Regions from separate parts of the Homo sapiens genome. Here regions 1, 2 and 3 are each linked to region 4. Evidence: promoter capture Hi-C in human tissues and cell types (Jung and others, 2019). All regions are on one chromosome and are shown on one strand. The core of a region is centred on a gene start or on the middle of the fragment in contact, and the rest is flanking DNA. Distances in the headings are between cores, read along the strand shown.

The links. The method cuts DNA at HindIII sites, captures the fragments that hold promoters and counts their contacts. A contact is called where the count stands out against the background at its distance.
Region 1: a contact is called between a fragment that was not itself captured here and the fragment with the promoter of MVB12B in region 4, in 2 of the 25 tissues and cell types used here (heart left ventricle and mesendoderm cells).
Region 2: a fragment that was not itself captured here is called in contact with the fragment with the promoter of MVB12B in region 4 in 1 of the 25 tissues and cell types used here (lymphoblastoid cells).
Region 3: a fragment that was not itself captured here is called in contact with the fragment with the promoter of MVB12B in region 4 in 2 of the 25 tissues and cell types used here (dorsolateral prefrontal cortex and hippocampus).

The regions. Positions count from the first base shown.
Region 1 is chr9:125,766,891-125,769,970 of GRCh38, reverse strand. All of the region lies in intron 2 of PBX3 (PBX homeobox 3), which reads right to left. Among named protein-coding and RNA genes, the nearest start is that of PBX3, 21 kb to the right of the region's middle. The HindIII fragment of the contact is 8,625 bases long and covers 1-3,080 here.
Region 2 is chr9:125,484,767-125,487,985 of GRCh38, reverse strand. The region is part of intron 8 of MAPKAP1 (MAPK associated protein 1); the gene reads left to right. Among named protein-coding and RNA genes, the nearest start is that of MAPKAP1, 220 kb to the left of the region's middle. The HindIII fragment of the contact is 3,100 bases long and covers 1-2,954 here.
Region 3 is chr9:125,750,779-125,754,054 of GRCh38, reverse strand. All of the region lies in intron 2 of PBX3 (PBX homeobox 3), which reads right to left. Among named protein-coding and RNA genes, the nearest start is that of PBX3, 5.0 kb to the right of the region's middle. The HindIII fragment of the contact is 5,452 bases long and covers 1-3,276 here.
Region 4 is chr9:126,325,405-126,328,213 of GRCh38, reverse strand. It overlaps MVB12B (multivesicular body subunit 12B), which reads right to left and starts at 1,385. Exons shown (of 10, transcript NM_033446.3): 1 at 1,204-1,385. The coding sequence starts at 1,284. RefSeq lists an enhancer at 168-819 and a silencer at 1,261-1,400. The HindIII fragment of the contact is 8,205 bases long and covers 1-2,809 here.

The DNA.
Region 1 (3,080 bases), core at 57-2,556, 560 kb after region 4:
CAACAAATACAAATTATACATAACCAGTTGAGCTTAAATAAATTAATAAGTGGTTAAGAGCTAATTAATAAACAATTCACTCAGTTTAAAAAAAAGTCAAAGAATCAGAATATTAAACTGAATAAAGCCTTAGAAATCTCCTCGTCCTACTTCCTTATTTTGTAAATAATCACTCTAGGACTTACCCAGGAACCCCAGGAAGCTTACACTAGTTCTGTATGGAAAACTATGATCCAACAAAATGTGATCTGTTGATCTATCCTTTTTTTCCCTTTATGTGTGCAGTCAAGACTGACTACAGGGTCTGCCTTCTAAGGGCAAAAGCTGTTTCCACACTGAAGAATATTCAGCAGAATACCATACTTGTGTAGGCACTTAACAAATACGCTAAGAGGATCACGCTAATGGCTTCACGATATATTCTGTTGCCTTTAGGATCAGCATACTAAAAACCTGTTTCTTTCCAGGTAAGGTAATCTTTCTGTATAGATATTACAGATGAAAATAAAATAATGCTCTCAGAGCAAATTATATTACATAAGCATTTCACTTTACACAGACTTGTAGTTCTGAAATGGTGTCCGTGGACCCCTGGTGGTCCCTGAGACCCTTTCAGGAGTCCACAAACTTAAAATTATTTTCACAGTAATAAGATATTGGTCTTTTTCACTGTGTTGACATTTATACTGATGGTGCACAAAGCAAAGGTGGATAAAACTGCTGGCGCCATTGCACAAAGCAAGACAGCGGCACCACACTATACTAACAATGTATTCTTTACCACTAGGCACTTAAATTTTTTTTTAAAGGCCAGTTTCACTTCACAATGTCCTTGATGAAACAGTAAAAATTATTAACTCAATCACACCTTCACTGTGTCTTTTTAATATTCTGTGACAAAATACAAATTCTCCACAAAGCACTTAGGCTGCATGCCAAGTGTGAGGAAAGCACTTGCATAACTGTGAGTTGCAAGCTGAACTAGCTGCTTAAAAAAAAATTAACAAATTATGGTTATTTCAGCTTATTTTGGCAGACCTTTTTTCAAAAAGAAACCAAGTAAACCTATACTTCAAGTAAAACAATAAACAGTTTTGGCGCTAATAATAAAATTCATGCTTTCAAGCAAAAATTAGAATTTTGAAACACTGTGTCCTCCACTGTGAGTATGAAATCTTCCCAGCACTTAAAAAAACTGTCCTGATAAGTTTGGTGGTAATACTCTTTCCTTTTCCAATTAGGTATCTGTATGAGGCCAGATATTTCTTCATATACATCAACCATATGATGACAGACTGAATGCAAAGGCAGATATGAGAATCCAGTTGTCTTCCATTAAGTCTGACATTTAAAAGATTTGCAAAAGTGTAAAACAATACTATTCTTCTTATCATTTAGTTTTGCTTAGTTTTGTTTCAGAAAATGCTGTTTAGGATAACATATAACAAGCTGATAATTGTAATAATGTTATTTATGCTAACATAATCGATTTATGATTTTAATTTTTAAATTAACTTAACGTTTTAAGAATTTGTTTCGATTGTTCATACAATAAATAGAGATTAAACCCGCATAAACAAAACTTATTTTAGGAGTATAAAGGAGTCCTAAGATCAAAAAGTTTGAGAATAAATGACACAGATATTCTCTTCAAAAGTCTTTACATAGGAAAGTTTAACAAATTAAATACAGATTCTAACCCAATAAATCATCTACTTATTTTATATACACAAGGATGGCATGTATCTTAAAAGAATTCTATCACATAGCAGAAATTAAATCCCTATAAAGCAACATGAAATAACAAAACAGTTACCAAAAAGACAAACTTGCCCCCCACCACCCCCAAGGACCTTATATCATCTAGGTCATAAACCAGTAATTTTTTTTTTGTATCATTCTTGCAAGGTAATATATGCTAATTACCAAATAAGTTCCTTCAACAACCCATGTCTCTAATTTCAGATTTCCCTCTTCTAAACTCCCCTCTCCCCGTCCCACCGGCCGCCAGCCTTTTTCTCTAGTCCTACTAGCACCTGAGTCTCATTGCTAGCCTGCTCCTGCCTTTCATGTAATTGTTCTATTCCATTTTTCTGATTCTTTCCCCTCAATACACTCAAAGATTCACTACACTCAGAAACGACTGGTGGTCTGAGTGTTTGTAGAACCACTGGGTAGAAAGCAGATCCACTAGGCTTCTCAGAAGAAAGTGGATTGCAGTTACAAATTTGGATAAAATGTAGTTTTTTAAAAAGTCTACCTCTACAAAGCTATTGTTAACCCAAGGTCCATGGTATCCATGAGGGATCCATGAATGATATTCAAGGTGTCTATAAACTCCCTGAAACTGTATTTAAACTTGTATGAGTATGTGCACTTTTCTAGAAAGTGAGCAGTGGGTCCACTGCTTTTATCACTTTCACATAGGAAACTACACTAAAAACAGATTTCCTGCACTACAGCTTTCTGGAGTACCACAAGCATAGATACCTGTGAATGGTGGTATGAACAGATATTAACTATTACATGGAAGAAAGGGCAGATTTTTGAATTACATGACTTTTTAAGAATAAGGACAAAATCAGAATAAACTATTCACCAGCCAAATAGTTATGAGCTTTCCATGTCTTAATGGTTTTCATGAAGCAAAATACTTGGCAGTTGGTTTAATGCCATTGGTTTAATGATGAGATTTAGACATACATATCAGCCTAACTCACCACTTAGCATTCGCCAAATTCACCGGTCACCTGCAACTAAGAGAATCCATGACAAAATTACTTCCAATGGCTTTCCATTATAAATAATTGGGGTTTTGTTTTTTAACTGTTTCAAAATGCTGTTAAGGGTTACAGTTAAAAAGCAAGTGAATATAAAATATAATTTTCCAGGTCTTTCCACCTGATGAGCGACAGCAACACATCAGTGGTTGATTCAAAATAGGAAGTAAACAGTTCAACAATGACTGTAACACAGAGAAGTCAAGTAAGTCTAAAAGAACAAAAAACTATAGCAATTAAATAAATGATACCTTACTGTATTCTGTTCCCAATCATGCTAAATTTAAAATTAGCATTCAT
Region 2 (3,219 bases), core at 155-2,654, 840 kb after region 4:
TCATCTCATCTGCCCATTATTAACATTTCAGCAAAATATAAAGTTTTCATTAATCTCCCACAGCAAATTTAGGAGTGAAAACTGGCACTTGTTTGAGCTTTTAGGACTACATTAGCTGGTGTATTAAACAAAATATGTCATTCTTCAGTAGCTTCTGTAAGAAGCTAAATCAATTTCCAGCCATATTTATGCACCACTTTATCTAAAAGCATCTGAATTATCATTTATAGCTAAGATGCTTTATTAGCAGCTGGCATTGAAATTGCTCAGTAAAAAATTATATGTCACGTTATAGTAATTTTTAAATTGGTTTTAATCCAACATCATAAAATGTAAAAATCTTAAGTGTGGGTTTTTTTTTTTTTTTTTTAGTAATTGGCATTTTAGCATAATGAGCTGTTACCTCTTTCCAAATCAAATACCTGCAATATTTAGAAAACACTAATTAGTAAAGCAAACAGAAGTTCTTGAGCTCAGAGCTAAATTGTATCTAATAATAGCATTTTCTCAGAAAAGATGACTTGAAATGATTTTTAAAACATTAAATGATTTTAATATTTTACCAAAATTCTCTGCAATTCTCATGTATAAGAAGTTCTAAAATAGAAATAAAACATGTTTTGGCAGTTATGTTTCAGTAAAAATGACTGGAAAAAGTGAATGATTATTTGAAACTCCAAATCCTAACCAGCCTCAGTATTACCCAGGAGAGAGTGGTAATCAGGATCATGGCATCTCTGTCCAAAATCATAGGTGCTGCAAAGAAAGGAAAGGGGCTACCCAGTGGCCCTTGCAGATGTGGAGTGAAGCTCTGCAGTGTCCTGGAGGTGCAATGTTGGTTAAGTCACTCTGTCTCTTTGACCCTCACCTTCCTGTGGACATGGCACCTGGTATTCGTTCAGTACATGTTTATTGAGCTCTGCTTTATCCTCTGAGTGGTAGCACTGGCAGTGTCTGAGTTGCAGTGGTGAGAAAGCAGTCCCTGTGTTCTTGGGGTTATAGTCTAATGGCAGAGACAGGCAATTACTCCCTGTGATAACTGTTCTGAAGAAAAATGCAGGATACGGGGACAGAAGGAGCCAAACTAGTGCCGGGGGCTTGCGGCCAGGGAAGGCTTCCCTGGAGTGTCACTGGTGCTCTGCTCTTCAGTAGGAAAACAGGGAGGGGCCGGGAGAGAATGAGATGGGGAGAAGGGTGACCTGGGCAGAGAGGACAGCATGTGCAAGAGGCTCTGAGATGGGATTCTGCCAGAGGCACTCAGTGAAGGGCGAGGTCATGTCCTTACTGAAGGAAAGTACTATTGTGGGTGCTGGGATGGTCCAGGTTGGGAATTACTGTAGTGTTTGCAAATAGAACACAAATTTCCTAATAAATGATTTCACTGTGAAAGCATCAGACACCAACTTTGACTTAAAATACTTGCCCCGTAAGCAGTAACTGTGGGAAGGAAAAGCATATCATTGTCAGGCTACCAGTTTGTTACAAAATTTTCCAGTTTTATACCCAAATCTAGAGTTTTCCATTCCCCCTAGAGTTCTCCCTAGGTTTCCCTGTGGAACTGTCTCTGAGTGCTCAACACGAGGCCTAGAGCACCCTACTGTGGTCAGCCCCTGCGAGACAGGCTCCTCCCCTCCCAACCCATTCTACCCCCTGCACTGGTGATGGCACCAACAGCTGCATCTGCAGAAGTCCACATTTCAAAGTCCAGGGACTGAGAGATAGTTTAACTTTGCTTAGTGTAACCTTGGCATGTGACAGCCTCCCAAAGCCTCAGAGTTCTCATCTGTAATATGGAAAATTATAAGACCTTCAATGCAGTAACGTGTGAAATGCTTAACACCAAGCCTGGCACATGGTAAGCACTCATGTATACTAGCTATTATTTATCTAGCACAATTTAGTGAGAGCATACCAGTTGCCTTTACTGCTTGCAGAAGATATAAAAATGAGTAAGAAACTTTCCTGACCTTCACAAAGCTTCCAGATTAGGACAGAGCAACCACTAAGCAATTCTAGCACACGGCTGAATATAATCCACCCTGACACTAGAAGAAAAATAGTCACTGCTCTTATGAAGCATACATATTCTTTACCTAAATTTGGATGTGAATGGCAAAAACTGAAATTCAGAGAGATAAAGTCACTTGCCCAAGATCATACAGCAAATTAGAGGCAGAGCTAGGAGTTGCGGCCGCAGCTGTCGGGCTCCAGGGTCCAGTATAAGCCAACTTTTATGGAATTCACTTCCAGAAGAACCATCAGAAAAGATTTCACAGGAGAGGTAGAGTTTGAGCTAGCCTAGGGAGGGGTGGAGGGATTTCAACAGGTCTGGGTGAGGATGAGAGGGTTGTTCTAGGCCAAGGGCAGCACATGAGCAAAGGCCCAGAATTATAAAAGCCTGAAGCACTGTGCAGTCTGAGGGGTTTGAGAGGGCTGAGAGAAGGCATGTGTGAGAAGTGAGAAGAATATTGGTATGTTTCAGGCACATTATGGGCTGCCCCGATTGCCTGGCTAAAAAAGTGTTCTTCATTCAGGAGGCCGTGGAGCCAGGGAAGATTTTTGAGCACCAGGCTTCTTATCTGTCTCCAGTGTCACATATCAGAGTACTTAGCATGCACAGGGTGCTCTCTGAGCATTTGGTGAATGAATGAATGATCCAACCTTTAGAAAAATGGATCAGAAAGCCTGTGGCGGCTGGACTGCAGAGGAAGAGCCTGGTGACCAGGAGGCCAGTGATGAGACTGTCACACTCAAGCACTAGCAGGTGCCCCCTGAGCCAGTGGGGGCTCTGTCAGTAGACAGCTATGTCTATCAATAGACAGCCATGTAACCTTAAGCAAGTGTCTTAATCTTTCTGAGCCTCAATTCTATCCTGCGTGAATGGGAATATCAGTACCAATGGCTCAGGGTTGCTATGGGGAACGAGTGAAATCCCACATGGAGGCTGTGGGGCGCAGGGTGAGAGGCAGTAAAGAAGACGTTTTGGGAATCTTGGAAAGGACAGAGATTCTTCAAGGAATGTGGATTACTTTTGTGATTAGGAAAATCACATTTAGAAAAAAAACAAGACCCGTGACACTGCTAACACCACCCAAGCTCTTGTGCTTTTGACTCACTCCTGTGGACTGAGCTTCCTGCCAAGAGCAAGCAGGAATTTTTTTATCCTTGCATCCCTGCTGCCCAGCCAAGGACCTGCCATAGTGTTTGTGGAATTAATTG
Region 3 (3,276 bases), core at 511-3,010, 570 kb after region 4:
AAAGTGATGACTGACTTAGGGTGTGGTTCACGAAATGCAGTTTCAATTCTTATAGTCCCACTTCATATAATGTAACTTCATCCTATACCATGCCACTATAAAGTATCAAAATATAAATAATCCAACTAATACGTTAATTTAAATTTGCCTCAGAAGTAACCTTTTACAAAATTTATAAATTGAGATGGAAATATACAGGCAAAATTAATTAAAAGGAAAAGCATCATAGTATGAAAAATGTAGACAAGTACATTTTATGAAAGCCGATCAACCAGTGTGCTCTTTGGGGCAAGTCGGGGCCTCCTTTGCTAGTGTATTAAAAGACTTCTAATTCAGAATAAAATTATGTAAATTAATAAAATAACATAGTAAAGTCCCAAATAAAATACCAAAACTATTCAAATCTGTAATAAAATGAGGGTCATTAAAACTAAGGAACAAAAGAATTACTTGCACAGATCAAGTTAGTATTGACAAGAGAGTTCAATACATTTTTATTGGGAAGAAAAAAATAAAGAACAGGATTGGAAAATGTCTCTATATTTTAAAGATAATATCCACATGATACTTTAGATCATGAGGTTCTAAACCAGCTTGGCAATGAGATTTTTCTCCAGGTTTTCTACAAATGTATTATATGTGCTATTTTGTTAGGATGGAAATGGAAGAATAAAGAAGTAGAAAAATCCCTTTCTTTTACAACTTCTCTGAAAACCTCCTACAAAAGCTCCAGTAAGATACCAAATCTATAAAAATAGAAAAAAAAAAAGGTAAAATATTAAGTTAAGAAAAATATATTGATAAAGCAATATAATTTATAACATTTCCAAGATACTCTGACTTTGTATTTTTCCTGTTTAATCACTTAATATTTCCAATATAAGCAGACCTAATGCTTAAAATTGATATGAAACTTAAAACATTAAAGAACCATTAAAATTTGCTTCAAAATAATTTTGGAATGGTGGGAATTACAGAGAAAACACGACTGGCCAAGTATTGCTAATTGCTGAAGATGGGCACTGAGTTCATGGGAGGTTCAAGAGTCTCTGCTCTCTGCATGTTATGTTTCAAAGGTGTCCACAATAAAAAGTTGTTAAAATCTTGAAAATAAGTTCATTAAAACAAAATGTGTTTCATGAAAACACAAAAAGGAATCATGTATGGAACAGTGCATTTGTTTTTAAAACTTGAAACAAAAGATGATAATTATATTGGAAATAGTGCAAGAGCAACTTAAAAGCATATGCAAAATATATAATAACATTTAGACTAATATATAACAATTTTCACCTTTCTTGCTAAATTTTCACTTGAAAAAATTGATTTTTACATATGTAGAATTAAAAGAATCACACAGCACTGTACAAAGAAAAATGTAACAGATTTTTATATTGAAACCTTAAAAAGAGAAGCACACCAAAAAAAGACTCCAAAGAGTCTCTAAACCTGTGGGTTCACAATTAAATAGAGAGGTGTCGAATGACAGTACTGCCTTGTCTCTTTGAAAGCTAGTCACACTTCTAGCAATAAAGATAAAAGGTTTAATCTCACATCATATACTAAATGCACATAAAACCTCACTTGTAAACTATACTCTTGATCTAGTTTTAATATCTAAAATTCTTATGACTCTTTCTAGGGAGGGTTCCTTTAAAAGTAAGGCATTTTTACTAGTCATTTTCTTCTCCTTAAACATAAAAAATACTTCAACCAGCCCAACCAACCAAGCAGGCCTTTCTCTTCCCCTGCGGACACCTCCTGCAGTAGAGAAGTTCATTAAGTTTTATGATCTTCCCAAGTCAGTCCTACTTATAAGCCTCACAAAGGCTACAAATCTGGCAAACCATCATGTATGCCATTAGACATTACTAGTAAATGAACGCTATTTAGGGTTTGTGGTGGCAATAAATCAGAGTTTGGTTGGCAGCCATCAACATGGAGTATTTTAACCTATTATTTGAAAAGGAAAAGGTTGTGTTTATTTTTTTTCATGCATAACATTTTTCACAATAATGTGATTCATATTATCTACTAAAATGTGGGATTTCATTTAAAAAATAAATATTTTTTTCTTGAAAAAGAACTATTTCCTTCACTTAAACTCGCACAATTAAGGGCTTTGGAAAGAAGACAAGATTTTTCAGGATGAAATATTTCACAAAGGAAAGCACTTCAACAATTAAGATTAAGATGACCAAAAAGAGGTGGGGGCATACACCAAAAGAGGTATGCAGGTGAGCAGACCTTGTGGCATCAGGGATATTTAATAAGAGACAGATGATAAAATATGGCTTTAAAAATCAGGAGAAAAATCTTAACATATCAACAATAATCTCACTGGTTACTTGGTTTAAAATAAACAACTATTTTTATTTTAAAGCCTACAACTTTTTGGGTGCTCTCAAAATGCACAAATATCACAATTCAACAATGAGAGACATTTCTGCCCAAAAATAATGGTATGATCAATTTTACGAAAGAATATATTCTCAAGAAAAAGCAGCATCTTATAGTAGAAGTATACTTTCCTTACCTCTCAACAAGAAAATAATATAATTGTAGTAGATTACCCATTTATCTGTCAGAAGGGAAAAATACCTTTTCATATATGGTAGAGGGGGAAACAGATGTTTTCTAAACTAAATCCCCCATGTGCATAAGAACTGGCAGTGTTCACTGCCTGATCAGAAACCTCAAAATCCACTGGCAGAGCTACAAATAAACAGATTTTTTTTAAAATGATTTTGTTTTGTTTTAGAAGAAAAGCACAACTGAAATGACATTATCCACTGAAATGACAGTTCACCCTCAACCCCCTTCATTAAGCAGAATAGAGTCATCAACATAATGTTTCTGGTTTCTATTCATAAATGACTAGGTAAACTTTCTCTAAATTACAAAGAATTAATTTTTAGGTATTATTAGATTAAATAAAATGATTTTTAAAAAATATTTATGCAATATACATATATTCTACAATGTTTCTTTTATAAGTTCATGTTTCTAAAGCATGACCGACTATGGAAGCAGGAGTGGGGGGGCTTGGAATTTGCAGCCCCGCTTTCTTTGCTTTGGTAACACTAATGTCTACACAGCTGTTTTATTTCGAATTGAGGATTCTGAGTCCCTGTCTCATTCTAAGACTAGTTTTGGAGAGTGAGGTGAAGCTATGGGTAGTAGGGGAGAATGGAAAGAAGAGAAAGAGCTTCACCCCCATCAATCACTCAGTACTTAAATCCCATCCCTCTCGAGCTTAGAGAGGCTAGCAGGAAG
Region 4 (2,809 bases), core at 136-2,635:
GCATGGTACAGTATCTCCAAGGACCCCACATGATTTCTAACAAGCAAGAAAGGTGTCACCATCTACTGTAACTAAACATCCTAGCACATTGAGTTTTTCAGTTAGTCAAGGCTTCACAGAGCTTATTTTTTAACTCTCTAAGCTTTCCTGGTGCCGCTGATAAGATTTCCCAGCCCTGTTAAAACGAGATGAGATCCAGCCAGCTGTCGAGAAATGTACAATGAGATTATACTGAGAAGGAACCACGAGAGACAAAGGCCCCTAAGAGGAGCTGGTCTGCTGTCTGCTTTTGTGGCAGCAATCGGAGTGGGCTCTGGTTCTTGGGTGGGGGCAGGAAGCAGGGAAGGGGCAACCACCATTTGCCTTTTGCCCTCCTGTGGTCTTCCTCAGTGCCTTGTGCAAGAGGTGTTGAGGGGCAGGGAACAGAAGAGTCTCATCTTTCATGGTGAGAAGGGCTGCTGATTTAGAACAGTTGTGTGTTGGTAACAAAGAGGACAAAAGATGCTCTTGGGTCTACCCCGTTCCCTGGTGCCTGCCTCTGAGGATGTGATGTCCCCTGGTGCCATGCCTCAGCTCTTGTCCCAGCCCCTGCTCCTCCCGTCTCGCTGGTGTTGGAGTCACTGTAGGGTGCTCGACGTGCCCACCATGTTCCTGGATGGGTGCTCTGGGTCTCGGGTACCCAGGCTGGGCATGTCACCTTCCAGACAGGTGCCTGAGGGTTTAGGTGTCCTCTCTGCTGTGCCCAGGTCACAGAGGCAGTGATGCTCCTGGGGCAGGTGCACGTTGGTCTGCACCCACGTGACCAGAGAGAGCAGGACCCCAGGCCAGGCCGGTCAAACGATTGACTGTTCCCAGTCTGTGCCCAGGTGGGCCGCCTCCCTCTCACGCGGGCAGAGGTGGCTCTCGGCGCCCCTCACCTGCCCGGGCCTTGGGGGCGCTGCTGGCACTCGGGTCCCCCAGCTTCTCCCGCCTCTCGCCGCCAGGCCGAGCCCGGGCACCGGCAGCCGCGGCGCGCTCGGGGCTCTGCAAAGGCCGCCCGGGCCTGTCCCCGCCGCGGGCCGGGCACGGAGCCCGCAGGCCTCGGCGCGGCCCGGCTCCTCCCGTCCGCCCGCCCCTCGGCCGGGGGCCCGCGCCCGCCCGCCCGCCCTCCCGGCTGCAGGGCCGGCTCCGCCGAGCCTCCGCGGCGCCCGGGCCTCACTTAACTGTTCCCCGCTGGGGCGGCGGCGGCGGTGGCTGCGGCGGCGGCGGGTCCCGGCTCCGTCTCACGCAGAAGCAGCTTCTCATCGCCCGGGCGGCGCGGGAGGGGCCGGGCCCGGGGCCCAGGCGGCAGGAGCCGGCGCCGCAGCTCGAGCGCGAGCCTCACCGAGAGCGGCGGCGGCGGCGGCGGCGGCGGAGGGGCGGGGCGCGGCCTGGCGGCGGCGGCGACAACGGCAGTGGCGGCGGCGGCTCCCTCCGCGGGCCGCGGCGGCGGGCCGGGCTCCGGGCCTCCCGGCGCTGGCGCTGGTTCAGGATCGGGGGAGGCGCCCGGCGCCCGAGGCTGGCTCGGGCGGGAGGAGGGAGAGGGAGCCCTGGCGTCCCGAGCCCGCGCCGCCGCCCCGGCCGGCACCCCGCCTCCCCAGCCTCCCCCTCGACCCAGCCCGTCAGCCGCAGGCAGGGCCCCGGTGCGCCCACCCGGGCCTCCCCGAGCCCGCCGGCGACCCCAGTCCAGCCTCAGGCCCCCGGGAGCCCACGGCCTCTAGAGCCTGGGGCATCGATGGTCCCCGCCCCCAGGCTGGTCTTTTCCAGGGACCCTCAGCCCACTTAGCTCTCGTAGGCCTCGCTGTACGCAAGACCGGTCTTCCGCTCGGCTGCAGATCCCTGGAAGCCCCCAGGCCCTCAGGCTAGAAGTTGGACCCTTCTAAGGACTCTCCGCCCACCCAGCCATTCTAGGCTTCACTGAACCCTAGAATCCTTCAGCTCATCTTCCCCCACCCCCCAGCTCACCTAAGGTGAGCTCAGCCAGTCGTCTCAAACTAACCCCAATTGCCTAGCAATTCTCTTATATTAGTTAGATGATTTATCCCCAGAAGCCTAGAATCAGGTTTATGGGGCCAGCCTCAGGCAAGCATCTAGAAGAAGTTTTTAGCAGGAGTCCTACCCTGCAGTACTTGGGGAAGGCATAAGCCAAGGATAAAATGGAGCTGGATGGTTGGGGGAGGGTCCAGAGCTTGACCCTCAGCTAGAGTGGCTGGTAGGAAAGGCGGACTCTGCGCCTTAACCAACCATGCCCCCCACACCGCCCAGCCAGGCACCCCAGGCAGAGGCCAGCGTGTGCAAGATTTGAAAGGTTTCCTGCCAGGAGGCTGGAGCATTCGTTAGGACTTGAGGACCATGCAGGAGTGATCAGCATTGATTTGCTAATGCATTGAGTCTCATTTTCACACATTCTAGGCTTTTCCATAATAGCTGTTTGATCCTAAAGAGAAGGGTGCCAAGCAGAATGGGCTGTCGGGGGAAACATCCTGTAGGGAAGCCATGCACGTGTGCATTCCCAGTGTCTTCACTACTCAGAAATGCCATGGGTTCAGATGGCTTTACAGCAAGCCTTATCCTCCCATCAGGGCACAGATCATCCCTATGTTACTTAAACTGTTACACAGGAAAAAATAAACAAAAGAAACAAAAATTTTTATTTCATTTCCCAAGTTTAGCATAACCCTGATACCAAAATCCAACAGACAATACCAAAAAGAACTGCAGATGACTAACCTAGAACACGAGTCCCCAGAGAATTTAATATTTATTTTTTGAAAATGGGCTTCTGTGGGCA